Regions from separate parts of the Homo sapiens genome. Here regions 2 and 3 are each linked to region 1. The links are contacts of gene promoters, found by promoter capture Hi-C in blood cells and fetal thymus (Javierre and others, 2016). All regions are on one chromosome and are shown on one strand. The core of a region is centred on a gene start or on the middle of the fragment in contact, and the rest is flanking DNA. Distances in the headings are between cores, read along the strand shown. Region 1 holds the start of DEFB1 (defensin beta 1). Region 2 has its middle 6.8 kb from the start of DEFA5. Region 3 has its middle 11 kb from the start of DEFA3.

What was found. The method cuts DNA at HindIII sites, captures the fragments that hold promoters and counts their contacts. A CHiCAGO score of 5 or more calls a contact.
Region 2: a contact is called between a fragment that was not itself captured here and the fragment with the promoter of DEFB1 in region 1, in 2 of 17 cell types (total B cells and fetal thymus). The highest score is 5.3, in total B cells.
Region 3: a contact is called between a fragment that was not itself captured here and the fragment with the promoter of DEFB1 in region 1, in 2 of 17 cell types (naive B cells and fetal thymus). The highest score is 5.7, in naive B cells.

Annotation. Positions count from the first base shown.
Region 1 is chr8:6,876,373-6,879,908 of GRCh38, forward strand. It overlaps DEFB1 (defensin beta 1), which reads right to left and starts at 1,564. Exons shown (of 2, transcript NM_005218.4): 1 at 1,425-1,564. The coding sequence starts at 1,485. The HindIII fragment of the contact is 13,732 bases long and covers 1-3,536 here.
Region 2 is chr8:7,048,205-7,051,740 of GRCh38, forward strand. No RefSeq gene overlaps it. Among named protein-coding and RNA genes, the nearest start is that of DEFA5, 6.8 kb to the right of the region's middle. The HindIII fragment of the contact is 249 bases long and covers 1,887-2,135 here.
Region 3 is chr8:7,027,704-7,031,239 of GRCh38, forward strand. It overlaps the pseudogene DEFA11P. Among named protein-coding and RNA genes, the nearest start is that of DEFA3, 11 kb to the left of the region's middle. The HindIII fragment of the contact is 1,875 bases long and covers 734-2,608 here.

The DNA of each region.
Region 1 (3,536 bases), core at 314-2,813:
AGGCTGAGGCAGGAGAATTGCTTGAACCCAGGAGGTGGAGGTTGCAGTGAGCTGAGATTGTGCCATTGCACTCCAGCCTGGGTGACAGAGCAAGACTCCATCTCAAAAAAACAAAACAAAACAAAACAAAAAAACACGGTAGGCTGAGTGGAGTGGCTCATGCCTATAATCCCAGAACTTTGGGAGTCTGAACTAGGAGGGTTGCTTGTGCCCAGGAGTTTGAGACCAGCCTGGTCAACACAGTAAGACCTTATCTCTACGAAAAAATAAAAATAAAAAAATTAGCCAGGTGTGGTGGTGCATGCCTGTAGTCACAGTTTCTTGGGAGGCTGAGGTGGGAGGATGGCCTGAGCTCAGGAGGCAGAGGCTGCAGTGAGGCGAGATCACACCACTGCACTTTAGCCTGGGTGACAGAGTGAGACCCTGTCTCAAAAAAAAAGCAAAGCAAAAACAAAAACCAAAAACCAAAAACCAAAAAAAAAAACAAAAAAACAAAATCCATTGTAGCAACTGGCAGCATGAAAAGTTCTGCATTTAGAATGCTTTTGTACTCAGCTTTCAGATGGAAAAACTGAGGCATAATTGGAATAAATTAAGCCTATCTGCTGGATACAGTGATGGCCTAGAGAAACTTACAATAGGATCTTACAGAGACTTTCTGAACTGGAGTGCTTGCTTTCAGGATCATCCTTCCCAGCCCCTCATTCTGCAGATGAATAAACCAAGGCTTAGCACCATGTGACTCGTGTGAACAAGGATAGGGCTGGGATAAAACATGTTCCCGATTCCTCCTGCACGTCCCACCATCATGTCAGGGTCATGGCTGCTTTGGCCCAGAGAAGCTGACATACACCTGGCTCACAGGAAGCCCCCTCCTATTGACTGGGGAGACTGCTAACCTGGAGAATGTGGATGCATTTCTCAGGAGAGGGAGAGGACCGCCTGCCTGCACAGGAGGTGAGTCCAAGGCACCGGCTGAGCTGGCCTGATGGGTGGGGCGGCAGCACCTCACCTGTACCAGGGCACCCCAGGAGGCTGCACCCAGTGACGTGGGCTGAGGATGGGGCCGGCCCCTCTCTCTGCATAGGAAGCTGGCCTCTCAGTGTGAGGAGTCGTCTTGCAGGGGAAGCAGCAATCTCATCCACATAGGATACTGTCTACATGTCCAGGACAAGGATGCAGGCAGCTGCCTGTGACAAGCGCCATGACCCTGCCAGGCTCACTCCTTGGCGGCTCACAGACCCTGAAGGCTTGGCAGGGCTTGCCTGCTGCCTTCTGCCAACTGCAGGCCACTCAACCACGGGATGCTTTCCTGCTGCTTGTTCCTCGTCCCTTGGGACACGGAGGCAGCCATCCGAGACTCACATCAGCCCCATTGTCCCCAGCCCTGGGGATGGGAAACTCTTGCAGGTACCAGAGCTTACCTGAGGCCATCTCAGACAAAAGTAAGCAGAGAGTAAACAGCAGAAGGTAGGAAGTTCTCATGGCGACTGGCAGGCAACACCCAGGATTTCAGGAACTGGGGAGACGCTGGCTCCTTTGGAGGCTGAGCTGACAGAGGCTTCCAGAGGCTGGAGCGTCACTGTATTTATAAGACTGGTGGATTGCACAACCTCGTCGACGGAACTGAAGGGAGGTGCCACAGTCAAGGGTGAACTTCTAATCGCTAACCCCTGGTGTCATTTGCCCTGAGCAGTCAGCAGTCACATGGCACATTGTCTCCATCTGGCTGCCGCTGGATTTAGCTTTCAGCCTGGAGCCCTGGTGCCAGCTCCTCCTGTTTGGTTTTCTAGGTTAGGCAGTTCTGATGGGGTTTCTGGAACAGGCAGTTCACACTGGAGTCCCTCCTTCTGGATCACATGGAGGAGAGCCACAGGGAAGCTCTGAGCAGGGGGCCGCTCGGCTCTAAGCTGGTGTTGGCCTCTTTAGTTTGATTGTCTTCCTGCAAGACAAACTCAAACTTCACCCTCTTCCCTTGCAGAAGGAGAGCTGGTTGTAATGAAGTTTCTTCCTCTGGCCAAGGCTACCTTCTCATCTCTCCCCTTATGCAGAACACTCTCCTCGATGGACCAACTTTTCTCTTTTCCCACTAGACGTGTTCCTGGGACGTTTCCAAAGGGCACTCCTCAGAAAGTGAGCCCCCAGTGTGGCCCTTGGAGGGTGAGGGTCTGGGCCAGCCTGGGCCCACCCTGCAGAGCTACAACTGCCAGATTGGGGTGCTGTTAGCGACTCTCCAAGTATCCCTCAGGTTTTCCTTGATTCTAAAGATTTAAGAAACATTTTATTTATTACTGATTTTCATTGTAATTCTGTGAGCAGCTTTCCTGATGTCTCAGTGGCTTATTTGCAAGCAGCAGACGCTGGCTCTCGCTGACCAAGGAAGGGAAGAGTTTATTCGGAGGATATCAGGGTTGGTGGGGGGTGGTGGCATTGCTGGAGAACCCAGCTTGAGGCTCAGTTTCCAGGAATGACATCCACCCTACACTGTCACGGTGGTCCAATGAGAACCCCATACTGCAGCCACATGGCATGAGACACCCAGAGTGGAGTGACCCTCAGCCACTCTACCGCTGGCAGAATGCCATTCTGCACCCAAACATGAACCTGCCGTATACTCCCACTTCAACCCTGCCAGAGAAAGACAGAGAGAGATCCAGAAAGATGGACAAACAAAAACAGAGACAGAGGAAGAGACAGAGACATGCAGAGAGACAGTAGAGAGACACAGAGAAACAGAGAGATAGAAACAGACAGAGAGAGATGGAAATAGAGAGAGAGAGAGAGATAGAGAGAAATAGATTCAGAGAGACAGAAAGAAGGAGACAGAAAGATGCAGTGGGATCCTGTAGCTAGCTCATTGAGGCAGTTCACAAAGGGTGTTTGGGAGAAAACTTGGAAGAGGCTGAGCCATGCCTGACCTAGGAGCAGTGAGATTGTGGAAAGAGAAAAGAAAGAACCGAAACACAGCTTTCCTTGCTGGTGCTGGGTAAGACATGGCTCAGCCTCTTCCAAGTTCCTCCCAAACACCGTCTGTGAACTGCCTCAATGAGCTAGCTACAGTATTCTATCGGATCTGTTTCTGTCCCTTTCCTTCTGTCTTATTGAAGCCACACTATGATTCTTTGACCAGGCAATATAATCCTCATGTTAGAGAAGAAAAACACTGGGGTTCAGAGAATTGAAACAAATTGCCCAAGGTCACCCTGCTGGTAAATGGAAAACTGGTGTAATGGCCTGGAAAGCCTCATTCCCTAGCCTCTGTGCTGACCGCCTCCTGGGGAGGCTTCCAGGTTATTACACCAGGTGTGGGTTCAATAAGATTGTGAAAGAAAAATATCTCAGGCACCTTCAAGCTGGGAACTGCTTATTGCGAATCTGCCTCTTTTTCTATTCAAGTCATCTTTTTGCTCCCAGAGATACATGCGTATTTCGATTAACTTTTTTGGAAAGACTTATAATAAATTCAAAAGAATGCAACCGGTCAGGGCGCAGTGGCTCACGTCTGTAATCCTAACACTCTGGGAGGCCGAGGCGGG
Region 2 (3,536 bases), core at 761-3,260, 170 kb after region 1:
TGTTTTGTGGACTAACATATGATCTGTCCTGGAGAATGTTCTATGTGCTGATGAGAAGAATATATTCTGCATCAGTTAGATGAAATATTCTGTAAATGTCAGTTAGGTCCATTTGGGCTAGAGTGTAGTTTAACTCTGATGTTTGGTTTTGTTAATTTTCTGTTTAAATGGTCAGTTCTTTATTGAAAGTGAGTTGTTGAAGTTTTCTACTATTATTGTATTTCAGCTTATCTCTTTAGATCCAGTAATATTTGCATTTGAATGCTCTTTGAATTTTTATATCCTTTTGCTAAATTGACCACTGTATCATTACATAATGACCCTGTTTGCCTCTTTTTGTAATTTTTGACTCAAATTCTGTTTTGTCTGATAGAAATATGGCTACTGTTGCTCTCTTTTGGTTTCCATTTGCATGGAATATCTTTTTTCATCCCATCACTTTCAATCTATATGGGTCTTTATAGACAAAGTAATTTTCTTGTAGGGAGCATATAGTTGGATCTTGATTTTCAATCCATTCAGCCAATGTATGTCTATAAACTGAAGAATTTAGTTTATACTTAATGTTATTATTGATAGGTAAGAACTTACTATTACCATTTTGTTACTTGTTTTCTGTTTCTTTTGTAACTCATCTCTTCCTTTTCTTTCTTCTTTTATTACTTTCCTCCTTAGTGGTTAAATGATTTTCTCTGATAGCGCTTTAATTCTTTGCTTTTAAAAAAGTGTATGCATGGCTGGGCACGGTGGCTCACGTCTGTAATCCCAGCACTTTAGGAGGCCGAGGCAGGCGGATCACGAGGTCAGGAGATCGAGACCATCCTGGCTAACACGGCGATACCCCATCTCTACTAAAAATACAAAAAATTAGCCAGGGGTGGTGGCGGGCACCTGTAGTCCCAACTACTTGGGAGGCTGAAGCAGGAGAATGGCCTGAACCTGGGAGGCGGAGCTTGCAGTGAGCTGAGATCGTGCTACTGCACTCCAGCCTGGGTGACAGAGTGAGACTCTGTCTCAAAAAAAAAAAAAAAAAAATGTGTATGCATTACAGGTTTTTGCTTTAGGGTTATTAGGAAGATTATGAAATGTTCATAAGAAGTTATTTTCAACAAATGACAACTTAACTTTGATCACAAAGAAAGTAGAAGAAGCTAACAATGACAGAAAAACCTAAAAAACTCTATACTTTAACTCCCTCCCCCCCAACATTTAGACTTTTTTGATCTCAGTGTACATCTTTTTATATTGCCTATCTCTTAACAAATTGTTTTATTTATTATTTTTCATAGATTTGCCTTTAAGTATTCATACTAGAGATATGAGAGATCTACAAACCACAATTATAATATTAGAGTATTCTAAAATTGTCTGTGTACTTACTTTTACCAATTGGTTTTATACCTTCAGATGTTTTCTTTTTGCATGTTGGCATCCTTTTCTTAAAGACTAAAGACTTTCCTTTTATAATTTTGTATTAAGACAGACAGGTCTGGTAATGAATTTCCTCAGTTTTTGTTTGTCAGTCACAACCTTTATTTCTACTCAATATGTGAAAGATAGCTTTGCTGGGTGCAGTATTCTTGGTGGGAAGATTATCTCTCAGCCTGTGCCCCAGCACTTTGAGCATATCATCCCTCTCCTTGTTGGTCTGTAGGATTTCCACTGAGAAGTTTGTAGCCAGATGATTTGGAGCCTCTTTATGTTTAATTTGCTTCTTTCTTTTTGCTGCTTTTAGAATCCTCTCTTTTTCCTTTGAGAGTTTAATGACCGTATGCCTTATGATAGTCTTTTTTGTGTTGAATCTGTTTGATAATGTTTAACCTTCCTATACCTAGATATTTATATCTTTCTCTATATTTGGAAAGTTTTCTATTATTATTTATTTAAGCTTTGTAGCCCTTGCCCTCTCTCAGCTCCCTTTTGAAGGTCAATGACTTTTAGATTTGTTCTTTTGAGGTATTTTCTATATTTAATAGGTATTCTTCATTCTTTCTGTTATTGAGAGTCTGACAGCTTTCTGCTAGGCAGTTTATTTCTCAGTTCCAGGGTTTCTATTTGCTTTTTAGAAAACGATTTTGATATACTTGCTAAATTTTTCTGATACATTTCTGAATTACTTTTCTGTGTCATTGCAAAGCTTGCTGAATCTCCTAAAAACTGCTGTTTTGAATTATTGAACATTGCCATCTTCTTAGGGTTGGTCACTGGCTCCTTTGTCCATTGGGGCTGGTCATCTTTTTCTGTTTGCTGTTGTTTCTTATGCAACATCAGGTATACCGAAGACTAAAGGATGGGCTGCCATGTACCAGGCCTCCATTTCTTAATCTCTCAAATCTAGATAATTGTCTCCTACCTCATGTGTGGTAGGGAAAGCAATTGGTGTGATGCCTAACACAATGGGGACAATGAATGGATATTAACCAATATTGCCATATTTCCTTGATCCTAAGATGGTAGCTGTCTTATATTATTTTTTTCTTTCCATAACTGAATACCTAAGACTGGGTAACTTACAAAGAAAATACATTTTTTTCTTACAACTCTGAAGGCTGGGAAATCTGAGATTTAGAGGCTGCATCTGGTGAGGGCCTTCTTGCTGATAAGGAATCTCTGCAGTCCTCAGTTGTGCAGGGTATCACATGGTGAGGCGGGACACACTGAGAGGAACTGGCTTTTACAACAGACTCACAGCAGACTCACTCTTGTGACAATCTACTAACACGTTAATTCATGAATGGGTTAATCCATTCGGGGGCATAGAGCCCTCAGAACCCCATCATCTCTTAAAGACCCCACCTTTTAATAGTGTTATATTGAGGAGTAAGTCTCAACATGAACTTTTGGAGGACATACTCAAATTATAGTAATACCAATTACATAATTATAGAAGTTTATCAAAGTAAATCAAAGCAAAACCACTATCAGATTACATTTACACATAGGTGTAAGATGCATCAAAAGTTTCAAAAGCAAGGCTGGGTGTAGTGGCTCAAACCTGTAATCCCAGCCCTTTGGGAGGCCAAGGCGGGTGGATCACCTGAGATTGGGAGTTCGATACCAGCCTGGGCAACATGGTGAAACCCTGTTACTACTAAAAGTAGAAAAAATTATCTGGATGTGGTTGCATATGCCTGTATTCCCAGCTACTTGGGAGGCCAAGGCATGAGAATCGCTTGAACCTGAGAGGCTGAGGTGGCAGCTGCCTGAGATCACACCACTGTACTCCACCCTGGGTAGCAGAGTGAGACTCTGTCAAAAAAAAAAAAAAAAGAAAAGAAAAGAAAAGAAAAAAAAACCCAACAACAGTTTCAAGAATTTAATCTGTGAAAAACGTGATATAGAATATGATAGAACTAGGATATTATTAAAGTCCTTCTAAAGAACTGGAACAAGATTGAAATACAGAGAAGACTTAGAAGATTGCTCAGTAAAACTGAAGGTCTAATGTGATGGTTAATTTTATGTGTCAACTTGGCTGTTTTGCAGTGGACCAGATATTTGGTCAAACATTATTCTGGGTATTTATGTAAGGGTGT
Region 3 (3,536 bases), core at 421-2,920, 150 kb after region 1:
TGTTTTGTTTTGTTTTTTTGATGGAGTTTCGCTCTTGTCACCCAGGCTGGAGTGCAATGGCATGATCTCAGCTCACCGCAACCTCCATTTCTCAGGTTCAAGTGATTCTCCTGCCTCAGCCTTCCAAGTAGCTGGGATTACAGGCATGTGCCACCACTCTCGGCTAATTTTTGTATTTTTAATAGAGGCGAGGTTTCACCACGTTGGCCAGGCTAGTCTCGAACTCCTGACCTCAGATGATCCATCTGCCTCAGCCTCCCAAAGTGCTGGGATTGCAGGCGTGAGCCACTGCCCCCGGTCTGGAACCATTTCTTTGGTGCTGGGATTACAGGTATGAGCCACCACACCTGGCCCATTACAGCTTTCTTAACTGTTCATTCCAATCTCAATTAAATTTTTTTCAATAGAGCTGTGACAACCCCAGGTCTTCAAAGGCAGATGTGTGACCTGGGTCTGTTCAATGAAACTCCAACACTTCAGGAAAGAACATGGTGGTTTTTTCCCTAAGAAGTAGCGATGTTATGATTGTGTAAACTGAAAGCTGATAATGACTGTTTTTCCTAACACATGGGAGTTACGTTTGAGTGAATCCAATCAAAGTGAAGCAGAGTGAAAAGACAGAGAAGTAGAAGGAGAAATTGGCAGCATAATTTGTGCTTGTAAATCAGTTTGTGTCTGAAGCCAATGTTTGTCCTTGATATTCTTAGAATTTGGAGTTGTATTTTGCTTAAAAAGCTTAATTTAGGATTCTGGTGCTTGCATCCCAAAGAGTCTTGACTAAGAGGTGCATTAAACACCAAACAGGTACAAACACAAACTTGCTACAAAGACTTTATTAGGAATAAGGGAAGAAATTGAAGACAAGGTAAAGGAGTAATAAAAGTTCTCCTCTAGATCTCAAAGCAAATGATGAACACATTTTCCTCTGTGCTCCATGATCCCACTATTGGTGCAGGTCCCATAGCGGTGTTTGGAAAAATGACAGCCTGATATTCTGCCATAGCAGACCAAGCCCGTCGCTGAGCCTGAAGACACAGAGAAAGCATCAGGCATTGGGACTGGGGTCAGACGCGGTTGGTAAGGAGAATCCCCGTGCAGTTACTTACTGGGCTGATTGCATTCATCATGGTGGCCACACCACAGCAGCAGCAAGATCAGCTCAATCAATAGGAATCAACGTACACAGCAGTGCTGCTCACAGGCAGGATTAGAGACTTATTCTCATTTGCTCACTTTTTGTGATGCTGCTTCTTCACACACACATTTGAGTACACCCTTAGGTCCCTTCCCATTTGTGAAGCTCCTCTAACAAACAAAGTGAAATATGTTTCTTTCCAAGTGGGTTCTCATCCTCGATGCCAGAGAGACTCCCCAGCGTGTTTCCACATAGCATAAGATTACTAAATTTCACTGACTTTTCACAGAATCAAATACCTTTGGAGGAGCAATGTCCATTGAATATCATCTGATTCTGTCTTTTCAGTCTACACTTGAGGAAATTGAGGCCTGGAGAGGTGATCACCTAAGAGAAAGAACCAGCTATTGGGTCTGATTCTAGCGGTGCCTGGTTTTCCTCTCTAGACTCCTGGCTCTGCAGTGCTGGTGGCTCTCACCTGAATCTCTAAAACCTGAGCTTATGTCCCCTGTGAAGGAGATGGCAAAGTCCTGGTGGTCTGCCCCAAGCTGCTCCTGGGCTGCAGCCTAGTCAGCTCTTGCCTGGAGTGGCTCAAGCCAGGGCCTGGAGTGGCACCAGGAGAATGGCAGCGAGGAGGGTGAGGGTCCTCATGGCTGGGGTCACCTGGAGGATGGAGAGCAGGAGTGGATGTGTGGGGAGTGATAAGCCAGCTTGGATTTATAGCTCTGCTGGGAGAAGGCTCAGAGACAGATGCTGCAGTGAGAGGAGGTGGAGCATGTGATTGGGGAAGGGAAGGGCTGCCTTTGCCATCAAGATCCCTTTGATGCTCTTCTGTTCTCCGAGCTTTTATCATAGCATGAGTCTGCTTATCGAGTGTCTGTTCTGGGTCCAAGCCAATAGTGATGATTAGGATCATGCTATAATTTCCTGTGTCTCATCTGCTGGAACATTTACTTCTTAATATTCAAAAAAGAAAAGAAACACTGCTCTTATTCCATAAGTTCAGGCAATAAATGCCTCTTATTTTCTGAAGATGAGCCCTGCTATTCTTGGTGGTCTAGACCCTGAGGCAAGACCTGGACCCCAGCATAGAGAGTAATTCATTGCAGGATTCTGGGGCATTTCTACCCTCATGAAGGACGCTTTTGAGGTTCTGGAAGGCATAGTCTTCTGCCACTGCTAGTGTGGAGAGGACAATGGCCTCATCAGGCTATCAGTCAAATAAGCTCAGTGGGATACTAGTTAAAGAGTTGGTCTGAATAAGGTTAAAAATTTTTTTTTATTTCCAACCGTATTGAGAGGAGTGACAATTAGAAATTATATCGGTTGAAAGTACACAACCTGATAATTCAACGTATATCTACATTTGTACCCTTATCTCACACCAAATGTAAAAATCAACTCTGAATGAATTGAAGACCTAAATATAAGTCTTGAAATCATAAAACTTACTAGAAGAACCCATAGGGATAAAGCTTCCTAACGTTGAACTGGGAGATTATTTCTTGGATATTACATTAAAGGTAGAGGCAACTAAAGCAAAAATAAACCAGTTGGAGTTCATTTAACTGTAAAACATCTGCATAGCAAAGGAAGTCATTAACTGAGCAAACAGGCAACCTAGCAAGAGAGAGAAATATTTGTAAACGATACATGTAATGAAAGTAAATATCTAAATATATAAAGAACTTAATAGAAAAAAACGAGTATTAATGATAAATGTGACTAAACAACTAAAAGAAACCATTATTACATAATTAAAGGAAACTGTGATGACAAAATCTTTTCAAGGGCAGAATATAATAAAGTGAAGTTACGAAGAAACACATGAAATTCTGGAATTGAGAAGTACAATAATCGAAATGTAAATTTTATGAACGGCTGCTCAATAGTATACTTAAACTGGCAGAACCAAGATTTAGGAAATGTGTGTACAGATAGATAAAAGATTATATAGTCCAGAGAACAGAGAAAAAAGATGAAGAAACAAGAATACAGTTAGAGAAAAGTGAGATACTATTAGGCATGAAAACACTCACTGGGTTGAGAGGTGAACTCTCAATCTGTTAAGGCAGCAGTCCCCAACTTTTTTGGCATCAGGGACATCTATGAAAAACTTACAACTAACATCATACTCGGTGGTTGAAAAAAAAAAAAAAGGATGCTTTCCTACTGAAATTAGAAACCAGCCAAGGATATCTGAAATCAGCACTTCTACTCAACATTGTGCTAGAGGTTCTAGGGCAGTCAGGCAAGAAGGAAAAATTAAATGACATCCAGGTTAGAAAAGAAGTTGTTAAATAATCTCTGTTTGCAAAGACATGATCTTTTATATATAGAAAATCCAAAACAATTTATTAAAAAACTATTAGAACTAATAAGGGAGTTTAGCATGGTTGAA